Regions from separate parts of the Homo sapiens genome. Here all the other regions are linked to region 5. Evidence: promoter capture Hi-C in 16 types of primary human blood cells and fetal thymus (Javierre and others, 2016). All regions are on one chromosome and are shown on one strand. The core of a region is centred on a gene start or on the middle of the fragment in contact, and the rest is flanking DNA. Distances in the headings are between cores, read along the strand shown.

Evidence for each region. Contacts are between HindIII fragments. The CHiCAGO score rates a contact against its expected background, and 5 or more counts as called.
Region 1: a fragment that was not itself captured here is called in contact with the fragment with the promoter of MTR in region 5 in 5 of 17 cell types (naive B cells, fetal thymus, total B cells and 2 more); the score reaches 6.6 in naive B cells.
Region 2: a fragment that was not itself captured here is called in contact with the fragment with the promoter of MTR in region 5 in 3 of 17 cell types (total B cells, naive CD4 T cells and neutrophils); the score reaches 6.5 in total B cells.
Region 3: a fragment that was not itself captured here is called in contact with the fragment with the promoter of MTR in region 5 in 1 of 17 cell types (total CD4 T cells); the score reaches 5.3 in total CD4 T cells.
Region 4: a fragment that was not itself captured here is called in contact with the fragment with the promoter of MTR in region 5 in 3 of 17 cell types (activated CD4 T cells, naive CD8 T cells and total CD4 T cells); the score reaches 8.3 in activated CD4 T cells.
Region 6: a contact is called between a fragment that was not itself captured here and the fragment with the promoter of MTR in region 5, in 2 of 17 cell types (naive CD4 T cells and non-activated CD4 T cells). The highest score is 5.8, in naive CD4 T cells.

What each region holds. Positions count from the first base shown.
Region 1 is chr1:236,067,189-236,071,913 of GRCh38, reverse strand. No RefSeq gene overlaps it. Among named protein-coding and RNA genes, the nearest start is that of NID1, 4.5 kb to the right of the region's middle. The HindIII fragment of the contact is 2,633 bases long and covers 1,932-4,564 here.
Region 2 is chr1:236,273,456-236,278,013 of GRCh38, reverse strand. The region is part of intron 1 of ERO1B (endoplasmic reticulum oxidoreductase 1 beta); the gene reads left to right. Among named protein-coding and RNA genes, the nearest start is that of ERO1B, 6.2 kb to the left of the region's middle. The HindIII fragment of the contact is 1,346 bases long and covers 1,639-2,984 here.
Region 3 is chr1:236,097,615-236,102,087 of GRCh38, reverse strand. No RefSeq gene overlaps it. Among named protein-coding and RNA genes, the nearest start is that of NID1, 35 kb to the right of the region's middle. RefSeq lists enhancers at 4,332-4,473, 4,285-4,473. The HindIII fragment of the contact is 9,622 bases long and covers 1-4,473 here.
Region 4 is chr1:236,136,006-236,140,997 of GRCh38, reverse strand. No RefSeq gene overlaps it. Among named protein-coding and RNA genes, the nearest start is that of GPR137B, 4.0 kb to the left of the region's middle. The HindIII fragment of the contact is 1,934 bases long and covers 1,816-3,749 here.
Region 5 is chr1:236,793,553-236,798,203 of GRCh38, reverse strand. MTR (5-methyltetrahydrofolate-homocysteine methyltransferase) reads right to left here and starts at 2,912. Exons shown (of 33, transcript NM_000254.3): 1 at 2,467-2,912. The coding sequence starts at 2,500. RefSeq lists enhancers at 2,307-2,496, 2,597-2,886. The HindIII fragment of the contact is 5,693 bases long and covers 1-3,852 here.
Region 6 is chr1:236,115,858-236,120,557 of GRCh38, reverse strand. No RefSeq gene overlaps it. Among named protein-coding and RNA genes, the nearest start is that of GPR137B, 24 kb to the left of the region's middle. The HindIII fragment of the contact is 221 bases long and covers 2,272-2,492 here.

The sequences.
Region 1 (4,725 bases), core at 1,999-4,498, 730 kb after region 5:
CAGCTCACTGCAGCCTTGACCTTCCAGGCTCAAGCGATCCTCCCACCTCATCCTCCCCAGTAGCTGAGACTACAGGTGCACACCACCATGCCTGGCTAATTTTTGTATTTTGTAAATTTTGTATTTTTGTATTTTTTGTAGAGATGGGGTTTCACCATGTTGCCCAGGCTGGTCTCAAACTCCTAGGCTCCACCTGCCTTGGCCTGCCAAAATGCTGAGATTACAGATGTGAGCCACAACACCCAGCCTATGCAATGAAATATTATTCAACCTAAAAAAGGGAGGAAATTCTGACACATGCTACAATATGGATGAACCTTGAGGACATTATGCAAAGTGAAATAAGCCAGTCACAAAAAGACAAATAGTGTCTTATTCCATTAATATAACATCTAGAGTAGTTAAATTCTTAGAGATGGAAAGTGGAATGGTGGTCGCCAGAGGCTGAGGGAGGGAGGGATGGGAAGTATTGTTTAATGGGTACAGAGTTTCAGTTTTGTGAGATGAAAAGAGTTCTAGAGATGGATGATGGTGATGGTTGCAAAACAGTATGAATGTACTACCATTTGATACATTGAATGTAATACGATTGAACTCTACACTTAAAAATGGTTAAGATGGGAGATATTATGTATGTGTAGTTTACCAAATAAAATTCTTTTTCAGTAACTGAAGAGAGAAAAATATTTGCAACCATTACAATAACAATTGATTCTAGTAAGAGTCATTAATGGGGTTAAAATTAGAGGGTAAAAGTTTAATGAAAGAGAATATTTATGTAGTTTCCAATTATCTGTTTCCAATATATTTATTAATTAGAAAAGAAAACCTAGTAATTTTACAGTGGAGAAATTAGGAGGTATAAATGTACCAGGTGATCAAAGTAAACACTATCAGCATTAGGACAAATGGACATGTTCCTCCTGATATGTTGCACTAGGAAGGACACAATATCACTTCTCTGTTACTGCTGCCAAAATTTATGCAAAATCTGATCTAATTATGAAGGAAACACCAGACAAACCCAAACTGAGGGACAGCCTACAAAATAACTGGTCTGTCCTCTTAAAAAATGTCAAGGGCCAGGCTCAATGGCTTGTCCCTGTAGTCCAGCTACTAGAGAGGCTATGGTGAGAGGATCATTTGAGTCCAGGAGTTTGAGGCTATAGCATGCTGTGATCACATCTGTGAATAGCCACTGCACTCCAGCCTCGGCATAGCTAGATCTCATCTCTAAAAAAAAAGTTAAGGTCATGAAAGATCAGGAATGACTGAGGAACTCTTTCAAGTTGAAGAAGACTGAAAGTGCATGACAACTGAATGCAGTTTGTAATCTGGTATTTTCTTTTGCTATTAAAAGACATTATATTGACATCTGGTGAACTCTGAATAAGAGCTGTCAATTAGATTATAGTATGATATCAATGTTAATTTCCTTATTTTGGCAATTGTGTTATGGCTAGGTGAGAGAATGTTCTAGTTTTAAAGAAGCATATACTTAAGCATTCAGAGGTAAAGAGGTATCATGTTTGCAACTTACCCTCAATGGTCCAGATAAAAATTTATGTATATATATATGTATCGATGTGTCTGTGTGTGTGTGCATGCATGTGTGAGTGTGTGGAGAGAGAGACAGACAGAGAGAGAGAAAGACAGAGAGAAAGCAAACATGGCAAAATGTTAATATTAAGGAAAATCTGAGTATATGGGATATGGGAATATAAGGGTATATGGAATCGTTTTGTATTATTTTTGCAATTTTTATGTAAGGTTGAAAATTACATAAATCAAGATTAAAAATTAAAATAACAACAAAAGGCAAGTGGAACCCCAGCAGTGAATGCTGGAGGTCTGATGATAATGAACCAGGAAAACGTTCATGGGAAAACAGGATGTAGAACTATAGGAATTAAACTTTACCCTGAAAAGCTTGGCATCTTCCCAAACATAGGTGGACATAATTGTGTTTTCCCAAGGTACTTTTTATCCTAATCGCCTTTGAAAACAGAATAAAGTGAACACCAAATCCTGCTTCACTCTCATCCTTTGTCAGAGTGTTTTTTTGTTTTGTTTTGTTTTGTTTTGTTTTTTGAGACAGAGTCTCGCTCTGTCGCCCAGGTTGGAGTTCAGTGGCGCGATCTAGGCTCACTGCAAGCTCCGCCTCCCGGGTTCATGCCATTCTCCTGCCTCAGCCTCCCGAGTAGCTGGGACTACAGGCGCCCGCCACCACGCCTGGCTAATTTTTTGTATTTTTTTAGTAGAGGCGGGGTTTCACCGTGTTAGCCAGGATGATCTCGATCACATGACCTCGTGATCCGCCCGCCTCGGCCTCCCAAAGTGCTGGGATTACAGGCTTGAGCCACCGCCCCCGGCCAAGGGTGTCATTTTTATCTGAGATCACAATTGAGTGTGGGTTGTTTAAAATACTCATGAATTGGCCGGGCTCGGTGGCTCACGACTGTAATTGCAGCACTTTGGGAGGCCGAGGTGGGCGGATCACGAGGTCAGGATATCAAGACCATCCTGGCTAACATGGTGAAACCCCGTCTCTACTAAAAATACAAAAAAAAAAAAAAAAAAAAAAAAAAAAAATTGGCCGGGCGTGGTGGCGGGCGCCTGTAGTCCCAGCTACTCGGTAGGCTGAGGCAGGAGAATGGCGTGAACCCAGGAGGCGGAGTTTGCAGTGAGCCGAGATCGCGCCAGTGCACTCCACGCTGGGCAACAGAGCGAGACTCCGTCTCAAATAAAATTAAAAAAAAAATTCATGAATTAGGCGAATTCCCTGGAATTGGAACACTAATACATTCACATCTATATGACATCTGGAAAATAAAAGAAAGCTCCATGGCCATACATGGTCAGTTACCAATCCTCACAGGAGAGTGAGATTAGAACAAATGCCTCCTTCAGAGCAATAGCCAATTGAGCTATTTTCCCACTCAGCTGCCTGGACTTTTGTCTGAATCGTCAGAGAGAAGAGTTACCTTGGGGCCGGGTGTGGTGGCTCACAACTGTAATCCCAGCACTTTGGGAGGCTGAGGCAGGAGGATCACCTGAGGTCAGGACTTCGAGACCAGCCTGGCCAACATGATGAAATCCCATCTCTACTAGAAATACAAAAATTAGTCGGGCGTGGTGGCATGCCTGTAATCCCAGCTACTCAGGAGACTGAGGCAGGAGAATCACCTGAAACTGGGAGGTGGAGGTGGCAGTGAGCCGAGATCACGCCACCGCACTCCAGCCTGGGTGACTGAGGGAGACTCCATCTCAAAAATCAAACACACAAAAAAAGAAAAGTTACCGTGGCTTCTTATAGACACACAGCCTGAGACCTGCTTCTTAAATTTTGTGTTTCTGCCTCATCAGGATGACAGCCATCAAGAAAAGAGTATAAATCTCAAAAGAGCAAGGTTTCATTTTTTTTTAAAGCTGGTATATTACAGAATTATGGGTACCATTGGTACTGCAGATATCAGATGATTCTTAAACATATCAGTGAGTTCTTAAATGGTTAAGAACTGTGCACATTATTAATGTGTATGCAGCATTGGGCTAGGCTCTGCGAAGTCAGGAAAACAAATAAAGCACATGGGCCTTGCCCCCAATGAGCTCTTATCCCCGAAAAACATACGAAATGACTAGAGAAAAAGACCGAATTATTATATACACTTAGAAAATGTCCAGAGCACAATATAAAAGTAAGTATTCGATGATGAATGTGTTTGGAACTACTAATTCTAAAGGAGTGACAGGGACACACTGTCCTAGTAGGAGACACAGCATCAATATTACGTCCTACAAGGACTGGGCAATGTGAGGCGAGTGCAGGGCTATAAATAGTAAATGACAGAGAATTTACCGTATATACTGGACTTACTCAGGCCAAGAGATACTGATGAAATAAAGGAGCACAAGCATGCACAGATAGATCGTGAGCATTATGTATAAACAATGGAGCAAATAGATCTTGTGGGTGGAAATAAAGGGAGAAACCTTTCCTTCCATAGATGGGCAGGATGGCGCGGCAGAAAGAATAATAGCTTTGGTGTCGGACAAACTGGATTCAAATCCTAGCTCTTTCACTACCTGTGTAAAACTGGGCAAGTTATCTAATCATTGCAAACCTTGTTTTCACTACATAGGGCTACTAGCTTGTGCAGTTATTAGTATTAAATTGAATGCTACATTAAGCATCTAGCAGAAGCAGCATTCAACAAGCGATATCTCTTGTTGGTTTGTGTATTTCTTAAAGCATCGCACTGTTATTGTTGTGTTTGTCTCCCTGATAGATTGTGAGCTTCTCAAAGAAAGGACTGTGCCTTAACGGTCTTGGCATTTTGAATTTCTAGTATAGAATCTGGCTCATGGTAGATTCTCAGTAAATATTGACATAATAAGAATCACGAAAACTGTACATTTAGGTAACAACGATGGTTTGATATTAACGGAATACTTACTTTGTGCCCAGCTAGGAGCATTTAATGAATCACCTTATCTAATCCTCACGACAATCCTTCGATTTTAACTATGAACATCCCATACAAGTGACAAGGATATTGAAGCTTAGAAACCTGCCCGTGCTTATACAGCCAGTAAATGGAGAGCCTTGACCTCAGCCAGGTTGGATTCAGGCTGTGCTGAACCAGCAAAGTAGAGAACTGCTCTCCTCCTGTAGTTGCTGAGGAAAGTCCCATGGATGGACCAATAGGAGTTTCAGAAGCTGCC
Region 2 (4,558 bases), core at 1,062-3,561, 520 kb after region 5:
GACAACAGAAACAAACACATAATGACCTTAGGTTCTGAAATTATCAGATAATTTAATATCACTATGTTTAATGTGTTCAAATAAAAAGAAACTTGAAGTATAGAAGGGAAAAAAGATTTTAAAGAGTGGCCAAAAAGATTTTAATAATAATGAATTAGAAGTTCTAGAACTGAAATTTAAAACTCGATGGATAGATTAAATAGCTGATCATATCCAGCTGAAGAAATGATTATTGAATTAGACAACCATTTCATGTCTTTTTTCTTTCTCCTTAATTCTCCATCACCTTTTCATCTATCCTTACTCTCAGTTCATACCTTACTAAAATTGGAGCAATCAGAAGAGAAATTCCACAGAGTAACCCATATCTATCCATTTACTAGTCTCTGTACCCACATATTTTGACTTCCTGTTGGTTACCATTGATGAACTGTGTGCTTTTATCAAAGGCAGCCCCTTCACTTGTATGTTAGGTCTCATTCCTTGTTTGCCGCTCATGGACATGGCTCCAGTAATCTTCTCTTTCTTTCCTGGATCATCAGTTTTTCCTTCTCAAATGGAATTTTACTGTCATCATGTATTAGTCCATTCTTTTTTTTTTTTTTTTCCTGGAGTAGAGTCTCGCTCTGTCACCCAGGCTGGAGAGCAGTGGCTCGATCTCAGTTCACTGCAACCTCTGTCTCCCAGGCTCAAGCAATTCTTATGCCTCAGCCTCCCAAGTAGCTGGGATTACAAGCTCCTGCCACAACGCCCAGCTAATTTTTGTATTTTTAGTAGAGATGGGGTTTTGCCATGTTGGCCAGGCTGGTCTCAAATTCCTGACCTCAAGTGATCTGCCTGCCTTGGCCTCCCAAAGTGCTGGGATTACAGGCGTGAGCCACTGTGCCTGGCTTAGTCCATTCTTGTATTGCTGTAAAGAACTGCCTGAGACTGGGTAATTTTTAAAGAAAAGAGATTTAATTGACTCACAGCTGTACAGGAAGCATGGCTGGCGAGGCCTCAGGAAACTTACAATCGGGGAAGTGCTGCACACTTTTAAACAACCAGATCTCATGAGAGCTCACTATCAGGAGAACAGCAAGGGGGAAGTCCGCCCCCATGATTCAAACACCTCCCACCAGGCCCCTCCCCAACACTGGGGATTATAATTTGACATGAGATTTGAGTGAAGAGATAAAGCCAGACTATATATCATAAAACATGCTGCTAATTCTACTGTTTTAAAGTTATCTTTTCATCCACATATTCCTTCTGCCTTTGCCTATTTTTTCTGTTCCCTCTAGAAAATTCAAGAGTTAGATTTAATTTATTCTTCCTTTGCTGGTTCTTCTATTTTTCAGCCCATTCTAATCAGACTTTTGCTCCTACCGCACCTCTGAAACTGCTCTTGGCAAGGTCGCCGATGTCCTCCTTGTTGCTAAGGCCAACGGTTTGTTCTTAAACCTCAGCTTTACCTGTTGGCGGCATTTTTTCACAACTCATCACTCACTCTCCTTGAAATAATTTTTATTCTGACATCCTGGATACTAAACTTTTCTGATTGTCTTCCTGTCTAGTGGACCAGTCTGTCTTAGCATTCTTTCTTTGTTCCTCCCCTGCCATTGACTGCTAATCATTTGAACCTCAGGGTTCAAAGCTTGTACTCTTTCTTCTCTTTATCTTAGTCATCTCTTCTGGTCTCTTAGCTTTAAATACCAAATGTACAGTGGACTCTCAGTGTTAGTCTCCAAGACTAGGATTCTCAGCTTTAGATCTATGTATCCAACTTCTTTTTGGACATCTCCACTTGGAGGATTAATAGATATCACAAACTTGATATAGAAACCACATTTCTGATCTTTTCCCCCAAATCTGCTTTTTCCACAGTCTTCCCCCCTTATACATAAGCTCCAGCCAAATTGGCCTGCCTGTTGTTCTTAAACATGGCAGATACATTCTTGCCTGAAAGCCTTTGTACTGTTTCTTCTACCTAGCACACACTTTTCTCGTGTATTCATATGATTCACTCTGTTAGATTTCTGCTAAAGTGTCACTTTATCTGACATCTCTTGTCTTAAATGTCCCTGACCACACAAATATAAAAGAGAAACATTCTATCCTCACCAAATTCCTGTCACCCTTTGCTTAAAACTCCCCATTGGCTTCCTGTCTCACATGGTGTCATCCAAAAATATATTTGGTCTTTATTTCTGATTGCTGACATAGAGCCCTTTAAAACCCTTGGAATTTGAGTCATAGGAGTGCCTTTTGTTACTCATAATGAGCCCCTTTCAATCACACTTGTGTTTATAGTAATGAAATGACTTAAGACGGGGACCCTACATAGATAGCCTCAGGATTGGGGGCTGGTCACCACAAAGACCCAAGTGATTAGAAAGTTGAAACTTTTGGCCCCACCAATCTGCAGGAAGGGGAGAGGTGGGTGCTGGAGATTTAGCTCCGTAAGAACTCTTGAACAACTTGATTTGATGAGCTTCCGGGTTGGGGAATACATTGACTTATTGGGAGGGTGGCATGTTGAGAGAGGCACGGAGGCTCTGCACATCCCTCTGCCTTAGTAGCTTGCCCAATGCATCTCTTCCATTTGGTTATTACTGAGTTGTATCCTTTATAATTGATAACTGTAAGTAAAGTGTCTTTCTGAGTTCTGTGAGCCATTCTGGCAAATTATCAAACCTGCAATGGAAGTGCTAGGAACCCACAATTGATAGCCAGTCAGAAGAACAAGTGGCTCAGGACCTGAGATTTGTGTCAGGAGTGGGGCCATCTTGTGGGACTCAGCCCTTAATTTGTAGGTCTGCACTGATGGTGGATAGTGTCAGAATTGAATTGTTGGACACCACCCAGTTGGTCTCAGAGTTGGAGAATTGGTTGGTGTGAGAAAATAACTCAGATTCAGTAAAAGCTAAAATCTTATAGTGGTCTAATTCTCCTTCTTGCCTATTGTATAGTCCTCCTTATTCCTCAAAAACATGGGGCAAGCTTACTGCATTAGGATCTTTGCACTCACTCCCAATGCCTGGAATGCTGTCCCCCCAGATACCTGCATGTCTTGCTCCTTGCCAAAATTTCATGACACCTTCTGTAACTGTCCTATTTTAAATGGTTAGCAGCCCCAGTTCTGCAGTCTGTTTCCAGTCCTTAGTTTTATCTATATCACTTTATTACCATCTGACATTCTGTACTTTGTTCATTCATTTTGCACCCCCTTTTCCCTATGAGAATGTAAACTCCTTGAGGGCAGAGATTTTTGTCTGTCTTTTTTTTTTCTTCTAATTTTATATCCCCAGCACTTAAAGCAGTGCAAATCTTATGTTGGGCCTCAGTAAATAGGCTGAATTAATGAATAAGTGAATGGAAGATAGATGCAAATAAATTATTCAGAATGAAATCTAAAGAGACAATGGGATAATAAATATTAAAGAGAACTTAAGATACCTGGAGAATAGAGTGAGAATGTCTAATACATCTAATTGGAGTTCTAAAAGAATATAATAGAATAGGGAAGAAGCAGTATTGATTTCTGCAGATGAGTATGAAGAAGATAACCTAACAGAAAAGTGAATCAAAGATATAAATAGACATTTTACACAAGAAGAAATATAAATGTGTCATAAAACATATGAACATTGTACCTTCTTAGTGCAAATAAGAAAAAAGATAATCTTTCATGCTAACTAGATTGGCAAAAATTAAAGCATAGATTAATATTAAATATTGATGAGGATATGGGCTGGCACAGTGGCTCACACCTGCAATCCCAGCACTTTGAGAGGCTGAGGCAGGCGGATCACTGGAGGCCAGGAGTTTGAGACCAGCCTGGCCAACATGGTGAAACGCTGTCTCTACTAAAAATACAAAAATTAGCTGGGCATGGTGGCATGTGCCTGTAGTCCCAGCTACTCGGGAGGCTGAGGCACGAGAATCACTTGAACCCAGGAAGCGGAGGTTTCAGTGAGCCAAGACTGTGATCCTGCGCTCTTGCTTGGGTGACAGAGTGAGACTCTGTCTCAAAAAAAAAAAAAAAAAAAAATAGGATATGGCTCAACAGTAAGTCCCATTCATTGTTGAGGGGCTGATAAATTGGTAAAACTGTTTTGGAAATCATTTTGCCATTTCCTGAAAAAGCTGAACATATACTTTCAGCGGTTCTATTCCTAAGCATATAACCTGGAGAAACTCTTTTTTTTTTTTTTTTTTTTTCTTTTGAGACAAGGTCTCGCTCTTTTCCCCAAGCTGGAGTGCAGTGGTGTGATTTTGGCTCACTGCAACCTCGACCCCCTGAGTTCAGGTGATCCTCCCATCTCAGCCTCTTGAGTAGCTGGGACTACAGATGCTCACCACCAGACCTGGCTAATTTTTGTACTTTTGTAGAGACAGGGTTTTGCCATGTTGCCCAGGCTGGACTCAATTCTCCTGTGTCCGCCTCCCAAAGTGCTAAGATTACAGGTGTGAGTCATTGTGCCTGGCCCAACCTGGAGAAACTCTTGCATGTGTTTTTACACCAGAATATGTGCCCAGAAACATTTGTGTAGCAATGTTCTTTAGCCAAATCTGA
Region 3 (4,473 bases), core at 1,490-3,989, 700 kb after region 5:
ACGCATACACATACACCCACATAACACACATGCACAGCCACATTCACACACACAACACCCACATAACACTCTCACACACACTCAGACCCCACACACACACTCACATAGCACTCACACACACCACACACTCATGGACACTCACACTGACACAACACTCACCACACTCACCCACGCATACACATACACCCACATAACACTCACCCACATGCACATCCACATTCACGCACACAACACCCACAAACACCCACATAACACTCACACATACACTCACACCACACACACACCCACGTAACACTCACCCACATGCACATCCACATTCACACACGCAACACCCACAGACACCCACATAACACTCTCACACAAACACACTCACACCACACACATAGCACTCACACACTCATGCACACTCACACCCACATAACACAACACTCACCCACACTCACCCACGCGTACACATACTCACCCCCACATAACACTCACCCACATACACGGCCACCTTCACACATACAACACCCACAAACACACCTACATAACACACAAACACACACACCACACACTCACATAGCACTCACACACTCACACCCACACAACACTCCCATGTACCCACATGACACTCTGACACATATACTCACACACACCCACAGAATTACATTTACATACACATGCACACACGTACACATACACACAACACCCACACACACACATGCATACAAAGACACCATGTACACACACACATGCATACAGAGACACCCACATGACACTCAAATTCACACACACACATTCATGCACTCACCCACCTCCACATTCACACACACACTCATACTCACACTTGCACATACAGGAACAGAGGCACATCCTGAATCCCCCTCCACACCTCAGGCTTCCCAGGGCGGCCTCAGGGGCCCGGTCTCTAGCCCAAATGCCAGAAGGTGTTACTGGTGAGATCCGCTGAAGAGCAGGCCACGTGTGTACTGATGATGCTGAGACTGGCGAAGGTTTTCTCTGAAGCAAGATGAAAGAGGAGCGTTCCTTCCCACCTTGCCATCTTCTAGACTTGATTTCAGCCTTGCCGGGCCCAGGGCTGTGGGAAGCGCGGGGCCGCGCGGTGTCGCTGGCTTGGGCCAATGTGGCTGCTTTGCCAGGTTTCTAGAACCAAAAATGTTGGGGTGAATTACGGGCCTGGGAGCTACTTCTGTGTTTTCTGGGGACTCCCAGCCCTCCCAGAGGTGGGACGGTGGTCACCAAAATTGTTCAGTGGTGGAGTGTTTTGGGTTTTGTTTTGTTTTTAGGGTGTGTGGCGGTCAAAGATGGAGCAGAGTGGTGCAAAAGGCTCAAGCTCTGGAATCAAACAGATCCCAGTCTCAGTCCAGCTCTCCACCAGCTCTGCCCCCTCGAGCCAGCTCTCTGCACCCCACTTCCTCATCCATAAAATGCTGTTGATAATAGTACCTGCCTCATGTAGTAGGTGTATCAAAGGAAACTGCTGGGGATTCGTATGCTGTCTAGCACACTGGATGTACTCAATGCATATGAGCAATACTATTACTATCGTTAGGCACGAGGGAAAGAGGGAAGGAAGTCGAAGAAGACTCGGGTTTTAGACAGAGCGAGTCGGGGAAAGGTGGTGTCTTGGGCTGGATGAGGAACCCAGGCGTGCAAGTGCATTTGGGAAACCTGTGAATTCCAGTTTTGGAAGTGCTGAATTTAGGATGCCTGGGGGACATGGATGGAAGCGGCCACTGCATGTTGAGAAGAGAGACTGGGCTGGAGTTGGAGATGGGGGATTCACAGCACATAAGGGGAGGTCTGGGCCAGCAGAGGACAGGAGGTCATTTGGAAAGGGAGCTTCCAATAGGAAGAAGACAGAACCCAGAGGGCCCAGCATGCAGAGGTGGTGGGAAGAAGGAAGCCCACAGGGGTGCGGGGGATTGTTGCAGATGGAGGAGGGAGGCCATCAGAAGGGACCCTGCCGAGGGAGAGGAGACCTCAGCCAGCACCCACTGGGTGCCTCACTTCTACTGAGCAGCCTACAAAGATAGGTGAGACCCTGGCGTGGCTCTGAAGAAACTGACAGACTCTAGGAGCTCCTGCAATTCTGTTTAATTGCTTCTTTTCTTTCTTCTCTCTTCCTTATGAACAAAGACTCTTCAGTCTTTGCTTATAAGGTAGAGCCTGTGGGAGCTCAGAGGCTCAGCCCTCTGTGTAGGGGGCAGGTCTGCTGAATGCATTACGTGGGTGGGCTGGCCAGACCAGATGTCCCGAGTTGCCTTCCAGATCCACGGAGCTTCCCCCGGGGCATCATGGCACACCGCCCCAGACAGTCGGTAGTTTGAGAAGAGAGTTAAATGCTCTGTTCGGGAAGGAAGGAAGTGTTGGAGGTCTCTAGGAATGCTATGCAGCTATATTACCATCTTTGGGATAGCAAAAGTTACATGCATTTCAAATTAATTTTAAAGCATGTCTAGCTTTGCAACAAAGCCACACATGTCTAGGGCAGGCAAGAAGCTAGATTTATGCAAATCGAATGATTAAATGTAAACACGTGTTAGAGGGAGCCTGATGGCTGGGCTCGGTGGCTCATGCCTGTAATCCCAGCACTTTAGGAGGCCAAGGCGGGTGGATCACCAGAGGTCAGGAGTTCAAGACCAGCCTGTCCAACATGATGAAACCCTGTCTCTACTGAAAATACAAAAACATTAGCCGGGCATGGTGGTGTGCACCTGTATTCCCAGCTACTTGAGAGGCTGAGGCACGAGAATCACTTGAAAGCAGGAAGTAGAAGCTGCAGTGAGCTGAGATAGTGCCACTGCACTCCAGCCTGGACAATAGAGTGAGACTCTGTCTCAAAAAAAAAAAAAAAAAAAAGCCTGATGATGAATGGGGTTGATGTGCTCAATATTTGCTCACATGGCTCAGCTGGTTAGTGTGGAGCTGCACCTCATCCACCCTACTGCCTGTCAAATTCTGCTCCCATTGTGATGAAAGACAGCCCCAATGCAAATATGTAAAAGATGCTCTCTATATACCCACTTTCTCTAGTAGGGCAACTCTGTCCAACTTCTTGCCCATATTCTGATAAGAGTGCACAGATTGTGAGCACAATTTGAACAGTGACTTTTAGCACTGTGCAAGGAAATCTTGAAATGCCAGTAACATCCAGGTTAGTTAATTTATAGGTACATAATGATGAAGAGGAAGATAGTACAAGAACAAAACACAGGTCTCTTGTGCTTAATGGGCCAGGAGTTGTTTTAAGTACTTTACGTGCAATAACTTGATCCTTACAACAACCATCACAAATGAGGAAACTGAGGCAGAGGTTAGGTAACTTGCCCAAGATTGCACAGTGAATAAGTGGGGGAGGCAGGATTTGAACCCAGGCAGGCTGCCTGCCTCAGAGTCCTTTTCTTTAGATACTATGGTAGCCACATCTCTGCATGATCTCATGTGACTTGATTAGCTTAACACAGCTTTTTCAAAAACTAAAATTTCTTTATCCTCTCCCTATTCCTAGTTTCTCCTTCCTTTCTTCCTTCCTTCCTTCCCTTCCCTCCTTCCCTTCCTTTCCTTCCTTCCCTTCCTTTCCTTCCTTCCTTCCTTCCCTTCCCTTCCTTCCTTCCCTTCCTTTCCTTCCTTCCCTTCCCTTCTTTTCCCTTCCCTTCCTTTCTTCCTTTCCCTTCCTTCCTTCCCTTCCTTTCCTTCCTTCCCTTCCCTTCCCTTCCCTTCCCTTCCCTTCTTTTCCCCTTCCCTTCCTTTCTTCCTTTCTGATGGAGTCTCATTCTTTCGCCCAGGCTGGAGTGCAGTGGCACAATCTTGACTCACTGCAGCCTCCGCCTCCCAGGTTCAAGAGATTCTCCTGCCTCAGCCTCCCAAGTAGTTGGGATTACATGTGCACACCATCACACCCAGCTAATTTTTGTATTTTTAGTAGACATGGTGGGGAGGTTTCGCCATGTTGGCCAGGCTGGACTCGAACTCCTGACCTCAAGTGATACACTTGCCTCAGCCTCCCAAAGTGCTGGGATTACAAGTGTGAGCCACCGCGCCTGGCCCTATTTTCATTTCTTTCTAATAGTTAGTGCTCTCTCTATCTCCTGCACTTGCTAATTCACATATATTCTCCCTTCAAATCTGCCTTGACAGCCTTCTGTTTTCAAGGGCCTCACAGCTACCTGGTTCCTTCTCTCAAAAGTTCCCTCTTCTGCAGGTAACTTCTCACTCACTTCCCTTGGACCACCCCTCTGTCTCTGTTAGTGTGAGGTGGGTTGTGTCCAGGGCCATCCACCAGAGGAAAGGGGAGAGAAGCCATACTTCTTGGGTCCAACGGGAGTCAAGGAGATCAAGGACCAGGTGTTGAGACCCGTATTTTGGTTTGGGAGGCTACAGGCAAGGTAGAAATGGAAGGCTGTTCTTGGCCGGGCACAATGGCTCACGCCTGTAATCCCAGCACTTTGGGAGGCTGAGGCAGGTGGA
Region 4 (4,992 bases), core at 1,533-4,032, 660 kb after region 5:
CTTTACTCCCGTGCTTAAATGCCCTTCCCTTGCTCCTCATAGTTCTGGGGTTAGAGTCTAAACTCCTACCCTAGCTTACCTCCCTGCCTTATCTCTTCCAAGGTGTTAAGCAGTGTTAACACCTCCTGACTCCCCTAGACTAAGAAAATTCTGCCCTTTCCTCCAACAGCTGGTCCTTCCTAGCTATCCATGAGGGTGTAACTTCCTGCAGAGAGCCTCTCCAGAACTCTCCACCCACCAAACTCTCAGGATTAGGCTAGGTGTTTCACCTGTGTGCTTCCCTAATATCCTTGCCTGATTGTTAGTTTCCCCCGCAACACACTTATTTATGTGTCCTTATGATAGAAACTAGGCTTGTTTACCAGTCTCTCCCCTGGCACATTGGAAAAGCATCCGTATACATTTTATTACACTGAAGGAATATTGTTTGTCAACAGAGGTCCAGACTCTGATATTTCTCCCTCCAGTGTGCATGGATTCTACCTCATGATCCAGGAGGGCTACTGGCTCTCCAGACATTGAGTCCACATCCCAGGCCAGCGTTAGGAGGAACAGGGGAAGACTAAAGAGCACTTGTTTTCTCCTGTTTCTGGAGCCTTCCCAGAAAGACCACATAATGCATCCACTTTTAGCTCATTGCTAGGACTTAATTACCCTAGCAAGCTGGCTACAAGAGATTGGGAAACGTAGTTTTAGTCCACGTGGCATTGTACACAGCTGAAAGCCATGGTTCTGTAATTATGGATGAAGGGGCGAATGGATTTAGGAAAAACTAGCATCTTTATCATGACTTCAAAGCAGACAAAAAGAATGCCAGATGGCTACAACAGTTCACCTCTTTGACTACCTAGTGTCAAATGTTTCTTATCATCTTTACAATTCTGAAAATACAATAAAGATGCTCCCACTTAATAACCCTTGTACAATTGAAAAGCATTCCAAGCCAGGTGCTCACACCTGTAATCCCAGCACTTTGGGAGGCCAAGGCAGGTGGATCAACTGAAGTCAGGAGTTCGAGACCAGCCTGGCCAACCAAGTGAAACCCTGTTTCTACTAAAAATACAAAAATTAGCCGGGTGTGGTGGCACATGCCTGTAATCCCAGCTACTAGGGAGGCTGAGGCACAAGAATCGCTGGAACCCAGGAGGCGGAGGTTGCAGTGAGCTGAGATTACGCCACTGAGCTCCAGCCTGGGCCACAGAGTGAGACTCCATCAGGAAGGAAGGAAGGGAAGAAAGGGAAGGAAGGGAAGGAAGGAGGGAGGGAGGGGAAAAAAGGAAGGAAGGAGAAAGGAAGGAAGGAAGGAAGGAAGGAAGGAAGGAAGGAAGGAAGGAAGGAAGAAAACAGAAAAACACATTCCCTCTTTCCCCCAAAAGGATCATCATTTTCTGTGTCCAGCTCCAAGCCCAGGAGCTCTGGGTGATAGCCATTCCTCCAATTCTGTCACCATCTCATCTCAACATTCTGTATCTTACGGACTAAATTATTAAGTTATCCATCACTAGTTTGTCCTGTATAAAATAGTAGAAGAAAAAAATGTAAAGGAAAGGAGAATTCATTATTAGGTTGGCGCCAAAGTAATTGTGGCTTTTTGCAATTAAAAGTAATGACAAAAACCACAATTACTTTTGCATCAATTTATAAAATACATACATATGACACAGCAAGAAAAAAATATAAGTTAGAGTTGTTGTTTTTCTGACTGGTCATAAAGCTGTAATTGCTCTCCTTAATGGACGTTACAAAATTTCCCTTTCCCTTCATCAGGGATCTCAGCTAGTCAGGGGTAGCCCTGATTTCTGAGGAATCTAAGCTTGTTAATGTTTGCCACTGGACATGCCAGCAGCAAGAGGCACTACCATGATTGAATTCTGTCTATTCACCTTTTATTGCTCATCATATAACAGCAACTCTACTTCCTCTTAATAGTTACTGTCATCACAGCCAACACCATCATACTATTTTTTACAATTCACCCACTGGCATGAGGAGTCTGAAATAGCCAGGGTCTCAACTTTTATTTCACTTAAACCACACTTGAATCTCCTGGGGTAGAAGAGTTCCTCCTTGGTTACTAAGACCTTCAAACTAGCCAAGCCTAGAGGCGAAGGAACGGGAAACAAAAAAATTTGCAAGTAAGTCACTGAGTGTTAGTGAAAGGTGCCATTCTCTTGGTTCCTGTAGCCATGTATCCTGACTGCAGGACAAATAGCACGATATGTCAGCTTTGGGTTCAGAAGAAATTCTATATATTATAGGACACCAATGCTACCTTTCTGTGCATTGTTGTCCTGCAGGCACAATAACTAAGCCTACAATTGGTCATTCCACCACTGGATAAGGCCAGCTGCTACTTGAGGGACAGAAATTAGCCTACCACGTTTCTTCTTTTAGTATAAAGTGAGGTCCTTGGTCAGAGCAATATTGTATAGGATACCATGATGATGAGCAATGCATTCAGAAAGTCCCGGGACAATAACGCAGGCACAGGAGGCAAAGAAAGTCAGTCCAAGTTCAGAAACATTGTCTATTACAGCAAGGACAAATTGCTGATATCCTACGTGATTAAAGAGGTCTATATAATCTGCTTTCAGGTGGCTGTCTAGGACTTCCCCTGAGTTTGAAACCTCTTGAAAGGCTCAGAGTTGGCTGGCGATACTCATGAAAAGCCAGGTCAGCCTTGGTGGGGAAGTCCAGATTGTTACAAAATGGATCAGTCAGTCCCTGCCTGCATGGTCACTGTGTCCATGAGCCCATTGAATAAGCAGTGGGCTAACTGGGGACAGAAGATGTCTTCCATACCCAGGGCAGGTAGACATGTCCACCTGAATGCTGAGAGCCTCCAGTAGAGCTGGGTGTTTTGGGGAACCTGACTTGGTGGCTTGATGGATCAAAATAACATGCAGCTCAAGACGGGCAGCTCAGACTCCATGGTAATCTGCCTTCTTGATGAGACATTCAGTCTCTTCCACAGCCCAGGAGCAAGCCATCTCTTTCTCTCAAAAGAAAAATAGTTATTTGACAAATAAGGCATGTATGTGTTCCCAAACCCTTATAACTGACACTGTGATTCTCCTAACAGGGCTTGTCACAGGTAATGTACACCTCTCCAATCTGCCATTGACACTTTGAGCACCGTTAGATCCACGGAGTCATGGATGACAAAACAGATGGCATTGCAGCCTGAACCAAATGGAGCATCTCCTCTGCCTTGAGCCCCTTCTCAAAATTAGCTCCCTTTTGAGACACCCCATAAGTGGGTCAGAGAAGCCCACTAATGTGACAAATATTGCTTCCATAAATAGGACCTCAAAGCATTACGCTTCTGCTTCCTGTAGGAGGCGGTGTCAGCTGTAATATCTCATCCTTCATTTTGGAGGAGCTATCTCAACCTAGACTCCCTGAAATGCTTCCGTGAGGTCACAGGCCCCTGTAGACTCATGAGATTTACATGTTTCTTACATGCCTAGAATAACTGCCATCTCTGCCTTGTGGGTCCTCATAGCATGATGTCATTAATATAGTATCACTGTGATGTCCAAAAAACATTAAAATGATTAAGAGTTCTGAAGACCAAATTGTGGCATGAAGCCAGAGTTGACCTAACCCTGAAGGAGATAGGAAAGTATCCTTACTAGATGAGACAAAGTGGCTTTTGGAGTTCTTCACTTATTGGGAATGAGAAAAAAACCATTTTCCTCCAGAGGCTGTGTGGGCTTGCTGTATTGAAGTCACCACCATATGAAGCTTATGATTACCTGTTTTATTTTCCAAGACCCCTCCATCTGTGTACCAACTGAACAGTTAGATGAAAAAGTGATGGGAGTTTACCACTTCTTTTTTTTTTTTTTTTGAGATGGAGTCTCGCTCTGTTGCCCAGGCTGGCATGCAATGGCGCGATCTCGGCTCACTGCAACCTCTGCCTCCCGGGTTCAAGCAATTCTCTTACCTCAGCCTCCCGAGTAGCTGGGATTACAGGCGCCCACCACCACGCCTGGCTAATTTTTTTGTATTTTTAGTAGAGACGGGGTTTCACCATGTTGGCCAGGCTGGTCTTGAACTCCTGACCTCAGCTGGTCTGCCTGCCTCGGCCTCCCAAAGTGCTGGGACTACAGGCGTGAGCCCCTCCGTCCGGCCTTTTTTTTTTTTTTTTTTTTTTTTGAGGCAGAGTCTTGCTCTGTCGCCCAGGCTGGAGTGCAGTGGCGTGATCTCGGCTCACTGCAAGCTCCGCCTTCTGGGTTCACGCCATTCTCCTGCCTCAGCTTCCTGAGTAGCTGGAACTACAGGCGCCCGCCACCATGCCGAGCTAATTTTTTTGTATTTTTTTTTTAGTAGAGACGGGGTTTCATGGTGTTGGCCAGGATGGTCTCAATCTCCTGACTTCGTGATCTGCCCGCCTTGGCCTCCCAAAGTGCTGGGATTACAGGCGTGAGCCACCGTGCCCAGCCTTTTTTTTTTTTTTTTTTTTTAGATGAAGTCTCGCTCTGTTGCCCAGGCTGGAGTGCAGTGGCGTAATCTTGGCTCACTGCAACTTCCGCCTCCTGGGTTCAAGCGATTCTTCTGCCTCAGCCTCCCGAGTAGCTGGGATTAGGAATTTACCACTTCTTTGGCATCCAAGTTCAGGTCTGAGAGTTGGATGCGGGTACAACATTCTCTGATGGGATGGTTTAATTCAGATCTAGGGAGTTTTTATTTTGCTTTTGTCAACTATATTAAGCAGGTCCACAGAGGACCGCCCATCTCATTTGTCCTAAGAGCTCATATTCAATTAGTTTCTGCCAAAGATCTTTGATGTGCAGGCAATTCTGATTGTCAGACTGGCCATTCTCAGACTGGTCATGATCATCTTGCCTTCTATTGGGATAACCTCTCCCTTACTGGTGGTTGTGCTGCCATTGAACTCTGGCACCCAGGATCCTGGCAAACATGAGGGAGTCCATTCATCTCCAGCCGCTCTCAATAGCATCCCTGATGTACAGAGTATAGCTACGA
Region 5 (4,651 bases), core at 1,663-4,162:
ACTGTGCTAAATGGGGAACACATACAGCAAAAGCACATTTTTATTTTCTGCATTATAATCAAATGATCCCAAGGCTTTCTCAGCACTGTTCTTTCTTTGCTTTATTAAAAACAATCTTACTACTGCCCTACAAGTCACTTGCAAGATACTTCTCTCTTTCATTTTTGGATCTCTAATTTCTAGTTTGCACAGACTTGCTACACTTTGTTTTTTTGGTTTTGTTTTGTTTTGTTTTGTTTTTTTTTGGAGACTAAGTCTCACTCTCTCACCCAGGATGGAGTGCAGTGGCATGATCTCGGCTCACTGCAACCTCAGCCTCCAGGGTTCAAGCGATTCTCCTGCCTCAGCCTCCTGAGTAGCTGGGGTTATAGGCGCTCACTATAAACCCAGCTAATTTTTGTATTTTTAGTACAGATGGGGTTTCACCATGTTGGCCAGGCTGGTCTCGAACTCCTGACCTCAGGTGACCCGCACGCCTCGGCCTCCCAAAGTGCTGGGATTACAGATATGAGCCACCGCGCCCAGCTTCTTTGGGGGCATCTCTTTGCTTGTGCAGTATTCCATTTTTAATATATATTATTTCCCCCTTTGATTTTAATAAGCCGGAGAAGAATTAGGCTGATACCAATTCACTGGATTATTCATTCCTTCATTAATCACTCATCAATTGATACCAATTCACTGGATTATTCATTCCTTCATTAATCACTCATCAATTGAGTTCCAAATAACACTCACAGTCCTAAGCAAGGATGAAACCAAGAAACTTTTAGAAGCTGTAGTTAAAATTTTCTCCCAAGATGTATTTGCTAGCCCACCATCCTCCTTCCCCAGGGCACACAACCATGGTCTGAAGTCACATTTAGTTTTAAGGCCCAACCTTGAGAATCAGGAATTCCCAGCTCTCCATTAAAATTTCATTAAGATTGTACGCCAGTAAATTACTAAGGGTTATTAGGAAGTTAAAACCTGATTCTAATCCCAATAAAAGTTGCTCACATAGACAGAAGCTGGACTACATCTAAGGTCTTTTCTAGGCACAATGGCCTGATTCAGAACTTCAGAGGCCCTAGACTTGGTTAAACTCCACTCAGTGCTCAACTCTAGAAGCCAGCCTTGGGGGTGAGGGGACTAGGCAAGATTCAAACATTCAACAATTTTCCTTTCAGTTTATTTTTTTTTTTTAAATCACTCACTATTCACAGTATTTTAAGTCTTCAGTGGCATTTTGCTCCTGATAATGACACCTAAATTCAGATGAAAGGGAAATAACTTTACTTGTTTAAATTAAATGGGAAGGGGGAGGCCAGAAATCATGAGTAAAAGATGTTTTCCAAATAAATATGATCTCCCTATGATCATTTATTCAATAAGATATAAATCTCTTATAGGGAGGTTTACATTTATTAATTAAATATTAAATATAAATAAGATGTAACCTCATTACATCTTATTTAATATATTAAATAACATATAAACCTCTCATAGGGAGGTTTATATCTTATTTAATAACAGCAGTGATGTGTTTCTCAGCCACAGTTCCACTAGTTTCAAGAACAATTATATCAGTCCCGTTATCAGAACCCAAGAATCAAGAGAGTCACCGGTTAACCTCTGATAAATTTCCTTGTGCGTTACGAATTTAGTATTCCCCCTCTTCCTGAAGCTAAACATCCCCACTATGTGATAGGATATTTACTGTTTTGTACTTATCACTAATTCTCGTTTCTACATCTCCTCACCCGTTTTTACGGGTGTATTTGTCCTCAAATTATAATCAGGCATGACCTTAGAGATCTAGAGCTCGTTATAAAGCTAACATTACGTTCAGTTCTCGTGCTAAACTAGCTTTTTCTCACTGTTGATCCCAGGGCCACCAACATCAGAATCGCTTGAAATTACTACCTCCCATTTCGGTATCTGGAGGTGGGGTCTGCTCATCTATTTTAACATAGTGAGTCTATGCATATTGCAGTTTTGCAGCAGCGTGCGTAGAAGCAGAAAATAAAAAGTTCCATGTAGTAGTTTTAAATAGTTCTCTGAGTTTCCTCGTCTGTCTCTCCGCGCCTGAACTTTCTTTCGCAGTAGGTGCGCAATACATATTTACGAATAAGCGTCACACCATGCAAAAAAAAAAACTTCCAGAGGGCCCAGCTGGTTTATGCTGCGTGGAACTGGAAAGTTTAGTTACTGTGACGTTAAGAATGTGTTTCGGGGGCGAGGGGAGGACGCTTTTTGCAGGTTTTGATGGCTTGCCTGGGGAGAAAGAGGTGAAGGTCGGACAAAGAGTGGAGCAAAACACGTAGCCCTCCGGGCTCCTGCGCTAAGTTCTAAAGGTGCCGCCCACACGCGGGGAAACACCGCCGGGCGTCTCCCGCCGCAGAAGGGAATCGCCCCAGGGATTAGGAGGCCACAGCACGAGTTAAGAAACACAACCCAACCACGCAGACGGGGTCGCAGCGTTACCGGGTTGCGACAGGTCTTGGAGCGCGGGTGACATGTTGTCGAGTCTCCTCCTTGCGCAGAGGGCGCGGCAGAGAAGACGTGCTCTCCACAGGTGACGACGGCCAAGGGCCACGCCAGCCAGCGCCAGGCGAGCCTGCCACACAAGGCCCGGGTCTTTTGACGCCTCCCGTTGGCTCGCGTCGCGGGGGGACTGCGGACCCCGAAAGCCCGCAGCGCCCTAGGGCCTCTCTCGGGGCTGGGCGCGGCAACTGCTGGAGCACGTGCTTTCTTCCCGGGTACCCGGCCAGTCCTTGGTGTCGGCCTAGCAGCCAGACACGCGCGGCCAGAGGCGGAGTCGCGGGACGGCACGGAAAAGGACCCAAGAGAAAACCGGCAGAGGAGGACGACGTGACATCCGGCTCTGAGCCCCGCAGACATTTAGAACCTTTCAGAGCGCGGTTAGTTCTGCGCTCAATCTATCCTCGGCGTGGGAGGTCCCGCCCCTTCCGGCCTGTGATTGGTCTGCCCGAGCTCCTCGCAGCCGCATTGGCTGTCAATATCAACCAATCACCTGCTGTTTAGCCCCGGGGCTCTCTGGGAGATGTAGTCCCGCTCCCCAGTTTCCCGCGGGAGCTTTTCGCGTCTCTGTGTGCCCAGGATCCGGAAGTGTAAGCCTAAGTGGCCCCTCTAAGGAAAAGTCACAGCGCCAAGTTCGTGCTGATCTCGACACGCTGTGTGGTGTCGAGCCTGAAATTTTAGTTCCGTTTTGCTGTTGACTTGCGCTGGGCAAGACAGTTAACCTCTCAGTCTCCACACTCTACAAACAAGAATGATAGGATGGTAGTAATTAGAATTTTTTAGGGTTGTAGTAGGCGTTAAATGAGATCGTTTGACCGCGCTATGAAAACTCTGAATTACCATATGGGGGTGTTAATTGTAACTTATTGACAGTAAACATATATTGAGCACCTACTATGTGTCAGGCATTGGGGCACACACTTGGAATGCAAAATCAGACAAGCTACATCGCACCCTCACGTCCTTGGAGGAGGAACTCACAACCTAGTTAGATTAATAATTGAACAGGGAAAAAAGAACCACATACATTTTAAAAGAGCTAGAGTATTCAAAGGGGCCAGGGAAAGGTTTCAAAGAAGAATCTGGGTCCTGAAGGAAGAGTGGTACCAGGTAAGGTTGTTCCAGTCAGGAGAAGCTCCCTGTGTACAACACAGCACTTTAGGGAATTCTAAAATAAAGGGCAGCTCTGTAAGGCCGAGCATGGTAGATGTGAGAAAAAGCAAATTCATCTAGAAAAATCTCTGTAAGGCTGAGCATGGTAGATGTAAGGAAAAGCAAATGCATCCAGAAAAATAAAAACTATAACCAAATTATGACATTTACTAAGCTTTAAAAAAGGCACAAATTTGCATGCCATTCTCATTTTATTGTATGTAATTATACCTCAATTTTGAAGATTTGAAAAATTATTATAATGCGTATCACATTCTTACCAAGACCATCTTACCAAAGATGGTCTTACTTGGAAGGTGGGGGGAATGGAGTAGGTGAGAGAGAATGCAACAAAGAAGGGAGGGAGGAATGAGATGGCCCTAAATAGCCAAAAATCTTAAGATTATAAGGGCTAGGGTGAGAGTAGGTGAGGGATAAACGACTACACATTGGGTGCAGTGTCCACTGCCTAGGTGATGGGTGCACCAAACTCTCAAATCACCACTAAAGAACTTATTCATGTAACCAAACACCACCTGCTCCCCAAAAACCTATTGAAATAAATAAGTTAAAAAAAAAGAAGAAGAAAAGGAGGAAAGAAAAAAAAGCAAGGTCTTCTATGCTGAACTTATTAAATTATTTATCCAGGCTTGATAAATCATGATGGTTTTCTCATATTTATTATTATGTTTATTCATTTCTCAACTCCTGAGTTTTTATCTGCAAAAAAAGAAGTAGTGAAATTTAACTGTGTAAAGATGCACCTGTCTAAAAAAAAAAAAAAAAGATTATAAGGGCTAGTTGTTTGTTTGTTTGAGACGGAGTCTCACTCTGTCGCACAGTCTGGAGCGCACTGGCACGATCTTGGCTCAGCTCACTGCAACCTCCGCCTCCCGGGTTGAAGCTAGTTTTTTAATTATCATGTATCCCTCAAAGTTTGTTGACGTGTTTCTTGAAAAATGATCTTTCAGGCACC
Region 6 (4,700 bases), core at 1,133-3,632, 680 kb after region 5:
AAAATGTGGATCAGTTTAATCTGAAAAATGTTGAACAATCTTCAAACACAGATGTCCCCACTTTCTGGATTTTCGGGTTGAAAGAGATGGAAAATACTCCTTTGTTTTACACCTGAAGGCTGCTGGGCCTTCTGAGATCTGCTAGTCAGCGGCAGATGTAGAAAAAACCAGGACTCAAGTTTTCTGATGCAGAGATGTCTTTCAGCCGCACCGCTCTGCCTGTGTCTCGGTCTGGTGTGGGCTCATCTAAAGCAGCAAGCTCTCGTAGACTGTGATCCGGAGGCGGGAAGCATCCCCCTCTCCACCCTCCTTAAAATGCCTCCCCCTAAGAAGTCTTTCTACTCCAGTCCAGGATTACAACACTTACTTTATTTCCTTTATTTTCTTAGGACCATGCAGAGACTGCGTACATTTCCTCTAAGGCTTTGTCACCCCGTGAGGTCCCTCAGTAGAAAGGATGTTTACATAGTGGGAAGGGTCAGAACTTTCCAAGACCTGATGTCCAGTCCTTACTCTGCCCCTTACTGATTTTCACTCCATCGAGACAATGATCTCTTTTCTAGAGCAGCGCACATTTATTTATTCATTGTCCAAATATAAGGTACACTAAGCACTGAGACATAAAGAGGACAAGCAAGACCTCCCCGACGCCCCTACCCCTGCTTCCAGGACCTTGCTCTGTTGTGGAGACAGATGGGCACACGGGCAACTACATCATATGTTCTAGGATAAAGCGACCATGTATGCAGAGACAGGGAGGCATGAGGCAGCCTGGGCTTCCAGCACTGGGACTGCAGACGGTTCTACTGCAGACTGTAAAGGGGTGGAGTGGGATGGGGATATTGTTAGAGGTCACCAGGGGCCAGATGACAAGGGACATCCTATATCTAACTAAAGAGGTTAGATGTTATCATGTCAGCTCAGGCCGCCCTTGTAGACTTGAGGGCAGGATCACACTTTCCTGGTAGAAAGATCGTAGTTGTCTAATTAGCAAGGCCAGAGGCAGGCAAACCAGGCAAGTGCTTATTGAAACGTTGCAGGGAGTGAGGATGAGTTCCTGAGGCAGGAGAAGGAGAAGCCTGAAGAAAAGAACCTGCTTGAGTCCAGGAGTTCGAGACCAGCCTGGGCAACATAGCGAGACCCTGTCTCTATCTAAAAAATAAAATAAAATAAAAAGGGGAGACTAATTTAAAAACATGAAAAGAGGCCGGGTGGTAGCTCACGCCTGTAATCCCAGCTACTTGAGAGGCTGAGGCAGGAAAATCGCTTGAGCCAGGGAGGTGGAGGTTGCAGTGAGCCGAGATCACGCCATTGCACTCCAGCCTGGGTGACAGAGCGAGACTCCGTCTCAAAACATAAAAACATGAAAAGGGGCCAGGCACAGTGGCTTACGCCTGTAATCCCAGCACTTTGGGAGGCCGAGGCCCGCAGATCAACTGAGGTCAGGAGTTCAAGGCCAGCCTGGCCAATGTGGTGAAACCCCATCTCTTACTAAAAATACAAAAATTTAGCCTGGCGGGTTGGTGAGCGCTTGTAATCCCAGCTACTCGGGAGACTGAGGCAGGAGAATTACTTGAACCAGGGAGGTGGAGGTTGCAGTGAGCCGAGACCTACCCCTTACTGATTTTCACTCCATTGAGACAATGATCTCTTTTCTAGAGCAGCGCACATTTATTTATTCATTGTCCAAATATAAGGTACACTAAGCACTGAGACATAAAGAGGACAAGCAAGACCTCCCCCACGCCCCCGACCTCTGCTTCCAGGACCTTGCTCTGTTGTGGAGACAGATGGGCACACAGGCAGCTACATCATAAGTTCTAGGATAAAGCAACTGCTGTCCAGCCTAGGAAACAGAGCGAGACTCCGTCTCAAAACAACAAAAAGAAACAAAACAATCAAACAGAAAAACATGAAAAGAAAAGGACAAGAAAACACCCAAGAATTAGTAGTAGGAAACTCAAGACAGAGAGTATTATGGAAACCTGGGGAGGAGATAATTTCTAAGAGAGATTGGAAAACAAGATTGTCAAATGCTGCAGACCAGAAACAAGACAAGACCAGGAAGCAGCCCATGAAACTCAGCCCCCAGGAGGCCTTTGACAGCCTGAAGGGAGTCAGTTCCAGGACAGCCACGGGCAAAAGCCAGAGTGCAAGTGTTAAAGAGAAAACACAAAAGCAAGGTAAGGAAGAAAGCCTCAGTTTCCTCACCTGACGATGAGGACGGCAATAAAATGTTATGAGACTATGGATTCAAAAGCTTCAAAAGCTTACCCACGGATGATTAAGAAGTTCCGGAGCTGGATGGTGGTGACAGTTGCAACGACATCGTGAAGGGACTTAAAGGCACTGGATTTTACACTTAAAATGATTTAAATAATACATTTTGCCTTATGTATATCACCCCACTGAATTGTACACTTAAAATGATTTAAATGATACATTTTGTCTTATGTATATTTTACTGCAATTTTTAAAGGGGAAGAAAAGCTTACAGAAAATGGCAGTGTTCTGTGCAGGTGTTGTTTATTTATTTAGAAGGCTAAGAAGGAGAGCTCGTGCTGAAAGCTTGGGAGAGGTAAGGGGCTGAATGATCAGGAGTTTCAGGTGTGGGGAAAGCGCAGAGGAAAGGAGGCCACACCCCGCTCAGGTAACAGGTCCAGGCTGATCCCTGATAGGTGTCGTAAGATATCAGAGTCAGAACTGACTGTGGCCCCGCAATCGAAGTGTCTTATTTTGCCAGGGAGGCTAAAGGGAGAAGGGGAGGCAGCGACTTCTCAGAAGCAGCACCGCCATCCTCACCTAGGTATAGGGTCCTCTGAGGACCAAATGAGAAACTGCTTGTGAAAACCCTGGGTGAAATACTGCATACTAGAGGATCAGGAGGTAGACTACCATCAGCGTCCCCCGACCTTACAATGTTGCATTGTAGTAATTAATACAATATGAAATCATTTTTATGTTATTGAGAAGAATTTGGAAAATATAGAAAACCATGGAATAAAATTAAAAATAATCATTGTTGGCCAGGCGCAATGGCTCACACCTGTAATCCCAGCACTTTGGGAGGCCGAGGTGGGCGGATCATGAGGTCTAGGAGTTTGAGACCAGCCTGGCCAATATGGTGAAACCCCGTCTCTACTAAAAATACAAAAATTACCCGGACGAGGTGGCTCGTGCCTGAAGTCCCAGCTACTCGGGAGGCTGAAGCAGAAGAATCACTTGAACCCGGGAGATGGAGGTTGCAGTGAGCCGAGATGGTGCCACTGCACTCCAGCCTGAGTGACAGAGCGAGACTCCATCTCAAAAATAAAAAATAACCATTGTCTCTCAACTTGACACTTTTTTTTTTCTTTCTGGAGACAGGGTCCTGCTCTTTTGCCCAGGCTGGAGTGCAGTGGTGAAATCATGACTCACTGCAAACTCTGCCTCCTGGGCTCAAGCAATCCTCCCACTGCAGCCTCCCTAGTAGCTGGAATCACAGGTGTGCACCATCATATCTGGCTAATTTTTATAGTTTTTGTAGAGACAAGGTTTTGCCATGTTGCTCAGGCTGGTATCGAGCCCCTGGGCTCAAGCGATTTGCCCACCTCGGCCTCGAAAAGTGTTGGGATTACAGGCATGAGCCACCCTGCCTGGCCATGATAACCTGAACAATTTGATAATGTGACTTTCAAATAACTTTTCTTATTATAGCTTCATACTCATATTCATATTCATAATTAAAAATCTGGAAAATACAGAAAAGTATAAAGAAGCAGATATGCATTCCTGGTAACCCCACAGTTTATATGTATTATACCAGACTTACTGATAGTCTTTCTGTAAATGCCCTTTTAAAAATTATGGTATATTGGCCAAGTGTGGTGGATTATGCCTGCAATCCCAGCACTTAGGGAGGCTGAGGTGGGTGGATCACCTGAGGTCAGGACTTCGAGACCAGCCTGACCAATATGGTGAAACCCCATCTCTACTAAATACAAAACATTAGCCAGGTGTGGTAGTGCATGCCTGTAATCCCAGCTACTCAGGAGGCTGAGGCAGAAGAATCGCTTGAACCTGGGAAGCAGAGGTTGCAGAGAGCCGAGATGACACCATTGCACTCCAGCCTGGGCAACAAGAGCAAAACTCCATCTCAAACAAACAAACAAACAAAAACAGTATATTTTACATAACCTATTCCTTCCACTAAATATAGCATGAATATTTTCTCATATTATGGAATATTCTTTTAAAACATTATTGTAAATGACTATATAGTATACCATCTTGCACATGTAAAATTCTTATAAAGAGTTGTTTTAAGTTTTCAAGAGACAAATGAAATATATTTGCTTTTTAAAATTAATTATAATGGTTCCATGCAGCACACATAGGAAAATTCAGAAACAGAAAAAAACCGGAGCTGGGTGCGGTGGCTCACACCTGTAATCCTAGCACTTTGGGAGGCCAAGGTGGGCAGATCACCTAAGGTTGGGAGTTCGAGACCAGCCTGACCAACATGGAGAAACCCCGTCTCAACTAAAAATACAAAAATTAACCAGACCTGGTGGCACATGCCTGTAATCCCAGCTACTTGGGAGGCCGAGGCAGGAGAATCGCTTGAACCCAAGAGGCGGTGGTTGTGCTGAGCCAAGATCACGCCATTGCACTCCAGCCGGGGAAACAAGAGCGAAACTCCGTCTCCAAAAAAAAAAAAA